Linked DNA regions of Homo sapiens: all the other regions are linked to region 2. Evidence: promoter capture Hi-C in 16 types of primary human blood cells and fetal thymus (Javierre and others, 2016). All regions are on one chromosome and are shown on one strand. The core of a region is centred on a gene start or on the middle of the fragment in contact, and the rest is flanking DNA. Distances in the headings are between cores, read along the strand shown.

Region 1 (2,902 bases), core at 399-2,898, 250 kb before region 2:
TGCACATGGTATTTTTCAGTTCTACAGTTAAATCTTTTTAAGTCTCTTCCCTGCCCACTTCCAAAGCACACATACACATCACTATCACTACCTTGGGGGTCTACAAAAATCTAGTTCAAATACGGAAGAAAACAGGTCATGCTGGAAGGCCATCCAGGTGGGGATGTTCAAAGGGCAGTTGGAAACTTGTGTGGAACTCCAAAAAAAAGTCATGACTGGAAATGTAAATTTAGGAGCCATCTTCGCATGGGATAGCTGAAGCCGTGTGCCTGCCACAGATTGCCAAGGGAGTACAGAGAGAAGAGAACAGAGAACAGATTGTCATGAAATAAAGTCATTTAGAATAAGAACTCCTTGAATGGCGTGAACCCGGGAGGCGGAGCTTGCAGTGAGCGGAGATCGCGCCACTGCACTCAAGCCTGGGCGACAGAGCGAGACTCCGTCTCAAAAAAAAAAAAAAAAAAAAGAATAAGAACTCCTTAAGCCTTGCTGCTTTCTTGATCACAGTAAACAACTCAGTGGTCAAAAGCTGACTTATTATAAATGATTTCTGACTAATTTTTTGACTAATTCATTTCTAAGTGTAAATGATAGGTATATATATATTTTAAAAAGACATATAAGGGCATATAGTTTCCTTAAAAATTAGAAAAATGCTATTATAATAATATTGTGATCAACAATAGTTTTGGAGCTTAATCTTTGTAAATCCTTGATATTTTCCTAAAATTAAATTACTATAAGTGAAATTATTAGGTCTTAAAGCTTTCTGATTGCTGAAATGTTCTCCAGAATTATTGCATGAGCTTATATTCCTACTGGCTTTGTATGAGTGCACACATCTTTTTAACCATTTGCCAACCCAGCATAGTAAGTTTTAATCTTTGAAAACAGCTCAATTTGATAGGTAACATTTATCTTACTAATGTTTTAATTACATCTTATATTTTTAAGTCAGCATTTTTCATATTTTATTGGCCATTTAATTCTTCAACTGCTTGCTCATATCCTTTATCCACTTTTCTACTGGGTTAATCTTTTCCCTACTGAGTTATTATTATTATTTTAGAGACAGGGTCTCACTCTGTCACCCAGGCTGGAGTGCAGTGGCGTGATCATGGTTCACTGCAACTTTGAACATCTGGGATCAAGCAATCCTCCCAAGTAGCTGGGAGTACAGGTACACGCTACCACACCTGGCTAATTTTTTAATGTTTTCTAGAGATGGGCTCTCACTACGTTGTTCAGGCTGGTCTTGAACTTCTGGTCTCAAGTGATCCTCCCACTCTGGCCTCACAAAGTACTGGGATTACAGGTGTGAGCCACCACACCTGGCCCCCTACTGATTTTTAAGAGCTCTTTGGTTGTTAACCGCTGTCATATGACACAACAACAATTTCAACCTTTTTACTCTGCTTGTGTGGAAGAGTATGTTAATACAAAGTTTTTATTATCGGTACAGGAAGGCAGAATATAATTATATTAATTATCAATGTAAAGTTTTTAAAAATCCAAGATTCTTCCCATGTTCATAGAAATATGAAAAATACAGAAAAACAATGAAAGATTATTGAAGAAGAAATAGCATTGATCCAAATCACTCTCCAAGTGGCCCAAGAATTATGAATTGTTTAATAATCTAACACCAAACTACTTTCCTTATTAGGCTCTAATTCTAGCCCATGATTAAAAAAACTTAAATATACACTTAAAAATCAACTTAAGTATGATGCTCCCGACAGTATAATCTAGAGATATGTCATGATGCCTTAGTACTCTCTGAGCTTTCATTTCCCTTTTAGTGAAGAATTGATAAAGTTATGCTTTACAAATAAGAAATTCATCTGGTGAAACACATTATATTTTGAGCTGTCTAGCTCTGCTGTCAGAACAGAGATCTACAATTTGTTAACCTCAGCTATAATCTTACCAGCACTGCACAACTCTTTCTTAGATTCCCAAGCAGGGCTCTGTATTTATATCACACACACCACTCCCACTGCAAACTTCATGAGGAAGACAGAGCAACCTCTCTCCACAAGGAGACTGGGGATCCTGAGCAGGTCTCAGCTTGATCCCCACCCAGGGAATTATACAACCTCATTCTAGCCCATGCAAGGAAGTATCACTGTTAAGACAGATATTCTGACAGCTATGGCAAACTTGCTATATTATTAATATAATTCGTTGGAAGAGTCTGCAATTCGGCATTAAAAACAAAAATACAAACAGAACAAAACACTTAGCTGCTTGACATTACAAACATACATTCTGGCACTTCTTGAGGCTCACTGAGCAGGTACTGCACTAGGCATGAGGATACAGAGATTAAAAGTAAAACATCTGTTTCAATTCCAGGGTCTAGAAGAGTTACGATTTAAATTCCTTAAGTTATTTTGGCACAAACAGTGTAATTATTATTTGTTTTAATGGACTAGAGGACATGAGTGAGAGGTTCCTGACATTCATCCTGGAGCACTTAGTTAACATGCAAGCCCAAGACTGGATATAAATAATCATCAGTAAATGAGGAAAGCTTGTAATCAAAAACCCTACTCCAGTGAGACAACTCAAGAAGCCTTATCTCATCTCAAAGCCAGAGAATTTAGTAATTAACATAGTGGATATTAGAAATTATGACAGTATTAGAGAAGAATGGTACTCAAGAAAGGTGTTATGGCTACACACTGTATAGGGACCACTGCTCTTACATGAACATATACATGAATCTAGTTAATCTAATGGCCTACTATTAGGGACTGTACCCTGAGCCTTATGACTCCTGCTGGTTCTGTTAGTTCCCCATAAAGGAATTCTGTTATTTGATTCCAATTAGGTTCAGCTGAATCCTAAAAGCACACTAGCATTTTTGCCTTAAATAAACCTTCCATAAAAGGTGCTT
Region 2 (2,700 bases), core at 78-2,577:
ACTAATGAGCACTAGGCTTAATACCTGGGTGACAAAATACTCTGTACAACAAACACCCATGACACAAGTTTACCTATGTAACAAACTGAACTTAAAAGTTAAAAAAAAAAAAGAGGTTCTTATTATGTTGCCCAGGCTGATCTCAAACTTCTGGACTCAAGTGAACTTCCACCTTGGCCTCCCAAAGTGCCTGGCCTTAGATATTCATACATTTATTTATTTTTAGAGATGTGGTGGGGGTGTGGGGGGTCTCTCTCTGTCACCTGGGCTGGAGTGCAGTGGCCCCATCATAGCTCACTGAAGCCTTGAACTCCTGGACTCAAGCAATCCTCCCACCTAAGCCTGCCGAGTAGCTGGGACTACAGGAGTGCACTACCATGCCGGGCAAACACACTGATTTTAAGTACAACTGTGTGCTTTCAGTCTTAAGATCTTCAGCTTTTGAAGGACCTCAGCCTTCCTCTAGTTCTAACTCCTCTCGTTCTAAGGAGATCCTTCCCATTCCTGCAGAACGTCTCCCCAACCCTTCTTCTTCACAGTTCTCCCTCCTATCCCTGAACCATTGCAAGAGGTTTTGTGCCAAGCCTCTGGCACATGGCACATTCTATCTCATGTTGTGATTTCGTTTTCTATGCACGTGCTCTCCTTCTAGCCTGGAGGTGAGCTGCTTAAGGGCAAAGAGCTCATGTGTAGCCCTTCCTTGTACCCATTGTCCTATAGCAGGTGCTACCTAGGGGGTGCTCCAGTAGCTTCCTTGAATGAACCAAAGAGAAGGGGTGAAGGGGGGAGTCAGTTGCCTAGGAGCTTGCATGGACTTCTGTGTCCTGGAACCAGCCCGGAGCTGCTGGAAGATGCTAGAAGTTGGAATCCTATCTCATTTCTAAACATCTGCTCCCACTCATCTCTTTCCAGGGTCATCAGTTATCCCCACTCCTCCCCCCCGCCCCCACTTTGTATAAATGAGCCCCTCACATCCCTCCATCTTCTCCATCACTGTGTGGTCACTTCTTAAATCATGCGTCTGGAAGGCGCCCTCCTGTACCCCATCCTGGAGGCTTCCTGCACTTCCCCTCTTGTTTCTTCCAGAAATGAGTCAGAGTGAAAGCAAACTTTCTGAGGTCCTGAGATCCCGGAGACAGGCTGTGAGGGCCGCTGGCCCCGCCCGCTCCAGCAGCGTGTGTGTGTATGTCTGTGTGTGTGTGTGTGCGCGCGCGCGCGCGCGTCAGGGGCCAATGCTGGAAAGGAAACAGCGGACTCGCTGAGGAGAAGAAAGGAGCCGCCCCCTTCGTCGCCAGCCCCCTCCCCACTTCCCGTCCAGCGCGCTGCTCCCTTCCCCCCGCCTCTGGCCTCGGGGAAGGAGCAGGAGGCAGCCCAGGCGGAGCGGGAGGAGCTGGCAGCGGGGCGCATGCCAGGCGGGGGTCCTCAGGGCGCCCCAGCCGCCGCCGGCGGCGGCGGCGTGAGCCACCGCGCAGGTAGGGGAGCTGCCACAGAGTCCTAGCACGTCCTGGGGGGGTCCTGGCAAGGAGGGCGCGCTCTGGCCCCCAGGAAGTCGCGTAGGTCAGGGCGTGCCTCTGTTAACAACCCCTTTCGAGGTGAGGGAAACTGAGGCAGGACGCGAGGCGTGCGAGGTTGAGAGAAGAGCGAGTCTTGGGCTGCCAGCCCGGCACCAGCGCCGAGCCGGGCCAGGTCCCTGACCCAGGACTGTGCAGCGATCCCCGGGACCCGCAGTTTGCGAAACTGTAGGAGTCTGACCCGCGCCCCCGCTGCGTGTCCAGGTGACCGGGAAAGGTTGCAGAGGCGTGCTTGGGGTTTGGATCCGTCCCCGTCCTGGGACACCTGCGCCGCCTGCACTCTCGTTGCGGTGCGCCCCAGCCTGCGCCCCCTCGGGACAGGGGACGTCCCGCCCGCCTTAACCCCAAGACCCAGCTGGATCTCGGGTTCCACCCCTTCGGGGACCTGGAGGGAGGAGGCTGGGAGCGGGACCAGGAACTGGTGCCTGTGCCTTCCCTAGGGGCTGCTCTGAAATCAGTGTCACCGCCCACTTCCTACTTGGCTACAGTAACGGGGATGGCCCAAGCCGGAGACTGCTCGGTTTCCACCGCCTGGAGCGCGGGTCTCGCTGTCAACTCTTAGTGATGATTGTGGATGGTTGTTTTTCAACAATGACAGGACTTCTACCTTCTCACTCTTAAAATGTGAGGTTTTCCAAAGACAGTGAGATTTGGAGTTAGGGAGTGCTGCCTTGTGTTCTTGCTGGGTGAGGACAGGGCTGGGTCAGTCGCTTAACCTCTCAGAGCCTCAGTCTCCTGAAATGTAAAGGAGAACACTCATAGCCTGGCCTCCATGTGTCGTTAGGTTTGTTGTATGGGAAATCAATTTGCAAAGTGTTATCATCAACTGGACAAATTTGAATTGGACAGCACTAGGACCATAGGAACTGGGGTTTGGAGACAGTCTGCCTGCATGTCAATCCTGGACATGCAGGAGACTATGACAGTACCTGCTTCATAGGGTTGTTATGCGGTTTAACTGTGATGGTGGAAGTGAAGCACCTCGCCCAATGCCTGAAATACCCAGTGCACTCTCAAAAAACCTTAGTTGCTATTTTTCCTAGGCAAAATCTAAATAATTGGGAGTAATGTGAGAATACCAGTTTGATTTGATTAATGCAGGAATAGTAGGGCATTTAAAAACACATGT
Region 3 (2,939 bases), core at 196-2,695, 220 kb before region 2:
AGCAGCAGCCTCTTTCCCATGACATGTAAGATTTTTACAGGCTGGGTGCAGTGGCTCATGCTTGCTATCCCAGAACTTTCAGAGGCCAAGGGAGGTGGATCACCTGAGGTTGGGAGTTCAAGACCAGCCTGGCTAACATGGCGAAACCCTGTCTCTACTAAAAATACAAAAATTAGCCAGGCCCAGTGGTGCGTGCCTGTACTTGGCACTCAGCTACTTGGGAGGCTGAGGCAGGAGAATCGCTTGAACCTGGGAAGAGGTGGAGGTTGCAGTGAGCCACTGCACTCCAGCATGGTCAACAGAGCCAGACTCCATCTCAAAAAAAAAAAAAAAAAAAAAAAAAGATTTTTACAGTTAAAATATATATGCAATTCCCAAACTGAAAAGATAACACTACAAGTATTTAAGCTATATTGTTATTAAATTATTCAAAGTATTGTATAATTCAAAGTGTTTACATTTCTACATACCTAGATATTATATATTTCTATAAGAAAAACATAGGTATGAATACATGTTGTTTAACTTCATTTCCTCAATTCCTTATTTTCAAACAATAAGCTTTACTATCTTTGTAAATAACTAATTTTATACAATGTCAACACTAAAAAAGCTACTCCCTATTATAATACATACAGCAGTTCACATCTTAATGGTTTCAAGTTTTGACTGTTAAAAATGTTAAGAATAATTAATTTTAGAAAAAAGTGTGGAACCTACATGAAATTTCTTAAGGACAACACAGGCTGCTTAAAATACACTTTTTACTACGAGCACAATTACTACATGAGCCAAATTTGACAGCACAGACACCAAAGTAATTCTACATATTTTATAATGGCCACTTAAAAGACATTATTAAGGGTAAATAAGCCATAAATACCCCCCATTATTTTAGGAGGAAAATAAATAACTTTTATTATTTTGTTTTTACTGCTACCTATTAAGTTATAGACTATACAGTAAATAAAAGAAATACTAAGCAATATCAACAAACTGTAAAACAAATCAAATATGGGCTTACGTCAGTAAGACCTGTAAAATAAGGCCAGGCACAGTGGCTCATGCCTGTAATCCCAGCTATTCAGGAGGGTGAGGCAGGAGGATTGCTTGAGGTCATGAGTTCAAGACCATCCTGGGCAACATAGCAAGACCCCGTCTCTAAAAAAAAAATTTTTTTTTAAAGAATAAACTCATTTGTGTGTGAGATTTGATCCAATCATTCTAGCTTACCTGCATCCATCACTAGTTTTTAAAATTAATTAACATCTAAGGGTTTCAATTTTTTTAATATAGCTTAAATAATTAAATTCATGATTATAAATAAAATATTGCCACTTGACTTCAATCTGCTAACGGAGAAGGCATGAGGAGAGAAAGATTTTTTAATCAAGGTGTTCCTCAGCTGGAGTTATTTCATTACCCATTAAGTAACACAACTATCTGAAATTCAGTTCAAGATGCCCTTATCAACTGAACACTATTTCCTTTCTCACAGTGCCAAATCTATGTGCCAACTGCCTAAGCAACAATAGATTCGCTTTAATTAAAAATAAGGTTCTGACATCCCAGTAAAACCAAGTCAAGAATTCTGAATCTAAAATTGAATCTGAACTTCTGATGACAATGTTAACCAACACCAAGAACAGAGTTAAGGGCAACTAAGACCAAGTCCTAATCTGAAAAGGCACTGCTGAGAAATAAAACTACTTTTTATTTTATTTATATTTATTATTTTTTTGAGACGGAGTCTTGTTCTGTCGCCCAGGCTGGAGTGCGGTGGCGCTATCTGGCCTCACTGCAAGCTCCGCCTCCCGGGTTCACGCCATTCTCCTGCCTCAGTCTCCTGAGTAGCTGGGACTACAGGCTACAGGTGCCCGCCACCATGCCCGGCTTTTTTTGTATTTTTAGTAGAGACAGGGTTTTACCATGTTAGCCAGGATGGTCTCGATCTCCTGACCTCGTGATCCGCCCACCTCAGCCTCCCAAAGCGCTGGGATTACAGGTGTGAGCCACCATGCCCAGCCAATATAACTACTTTTTTAAAAAGTCTTTTACAAATAATCATCTACTCAACAACTCTTCTGTTAATTAGGTCAGCATTACTCCCATTTCATAGATGGAGAGACTGGCAGAGTTGTTGAGTGCCTTGCTCAGTAGTAGAGAGCCAGATGACAAGAATCCAAGGCAATACTAGCAGGTCCTATTCCCATTCCTGGCTTCTGTCCACAAACATCTTCCCCACCCCACACTACTGTTCTCCCTTTCCCCAGACAATTCTAAGAGGAAGAAACACCAAGAATCTCTAGAGTAGGCACACATTAAAGAAAAAGCTTACAGCTACTATGCAACATCAAAGCATAGTTCCTGAAAATTGTCAATACGAACAAATTATTCTTCCATATTCTGCAGATACTTTCTACCAAAACTATCCAGAGATGTTTCAGATCTAACCATTATAGAAACTATTTTAATATAAAAAAACTAGTATGAATTCTAGTTTCATTTTAGTTAGTAAGCACCCCCCACCCCCCACCCCCACCCAATTCCCCAGCCGCGGAGCACTACTATTACTAAGGCTTTTTTTTTTTTTTTTTTTAATTCAGGTAGGCTGAGGCAGGAGAATGGCATGAACCCGGGAGGCGGAACTTGCAGTGAGCCAAGATTGCACCACTGCAGTCCAGCCTGGGCGACAGAGCCAGAGAGACTCCGTCTCAAAAAAAAAAAAAATTTCAGGTTAATACTACTGAAATGCCAGTTACAAGGAAAAACAAAAATGCAAAACAAACGAGAACAGAGGCAGTGGGAGCAGGGGACAGGACAGGGTTAAAAGGACAAGAGGAAAAAGAGAATCATAAGCCAGTGTTAATTATTAGTGATAAAGACTCTCAGTCTTTTATGGTACAACTGCACATCTAGAATTCTAAAGCAAGAATTAA

Evidence for each region. The method cuts DNA at HindIII sites, captures the fragments that hold promoters and counts their contacts. A CHiCAGO score of 5 or more calls a contact.
Region 1: a fragment that was not itself captured here is called in contact with the fragment with the promoter of DISC1 in region 2 in 6 of 17 cell types (activated CD4 T cells, non-activated CD4 T cells, monocytes and 3 more); the score reaches 7.4 in activated CD4 T cells.
Region 3: a fragment that was not itself captured here is called in contact with the fragment with the promoter of DISC1 in region 2 in 1 of 17 cell types (neutrophils); the score reaches 5.5 in neutrophils.

Annotation. Positions count from the first base shown.
Region 1 is chr1:231,379,870-231,382,771 of GRCh38, forward strand. The region is part of intron 1 of EGLN1 (egl-9 family hypoxia inducible factor 1); the gene reads right to left. Among named protein-coding and RNA genes, the nearest start is that of EGLN1, 41 kb to the right of the region's middle. The HindIII fragment of the contact is 1,771 bases long and covers 764-2,534 here.
Region 2 is chr1:231,625,463-231,628,162 of GRCh38, forward strand. DISC1 (DISC1 scaffold protein) reads left to right here and starts at 1,328. Exons shown (of 13, transcript NM_018662.3): 1 at 1,328-1,472. The coding sequence starts at 1,406. The region is part of intron 5 of TSNAX-DISC1 (TSNAX-DISC1 readthrough (NMD candidate)); the gene reads left to right. RefSeq lists silencers at 1,224-1,483, 1,814-1,873. The HindIII fragment of the contact is 7,020 bases long and covers 1-2,700 here.
Region 3 is chr1:231,403,450-231,406,388 of GRCh38, forward strand. The region is part of intron 1 of EGLN1 (egl-9 family hypoxia inducible factor 1); the gene reads right to left. Among named protein-coding and RNA genes, the nearest start is that of EGLN1, 17 kb to the right of the region's middle. The HindIII fragment of the contact is 1,772 bases long and covers 560-2,331 here.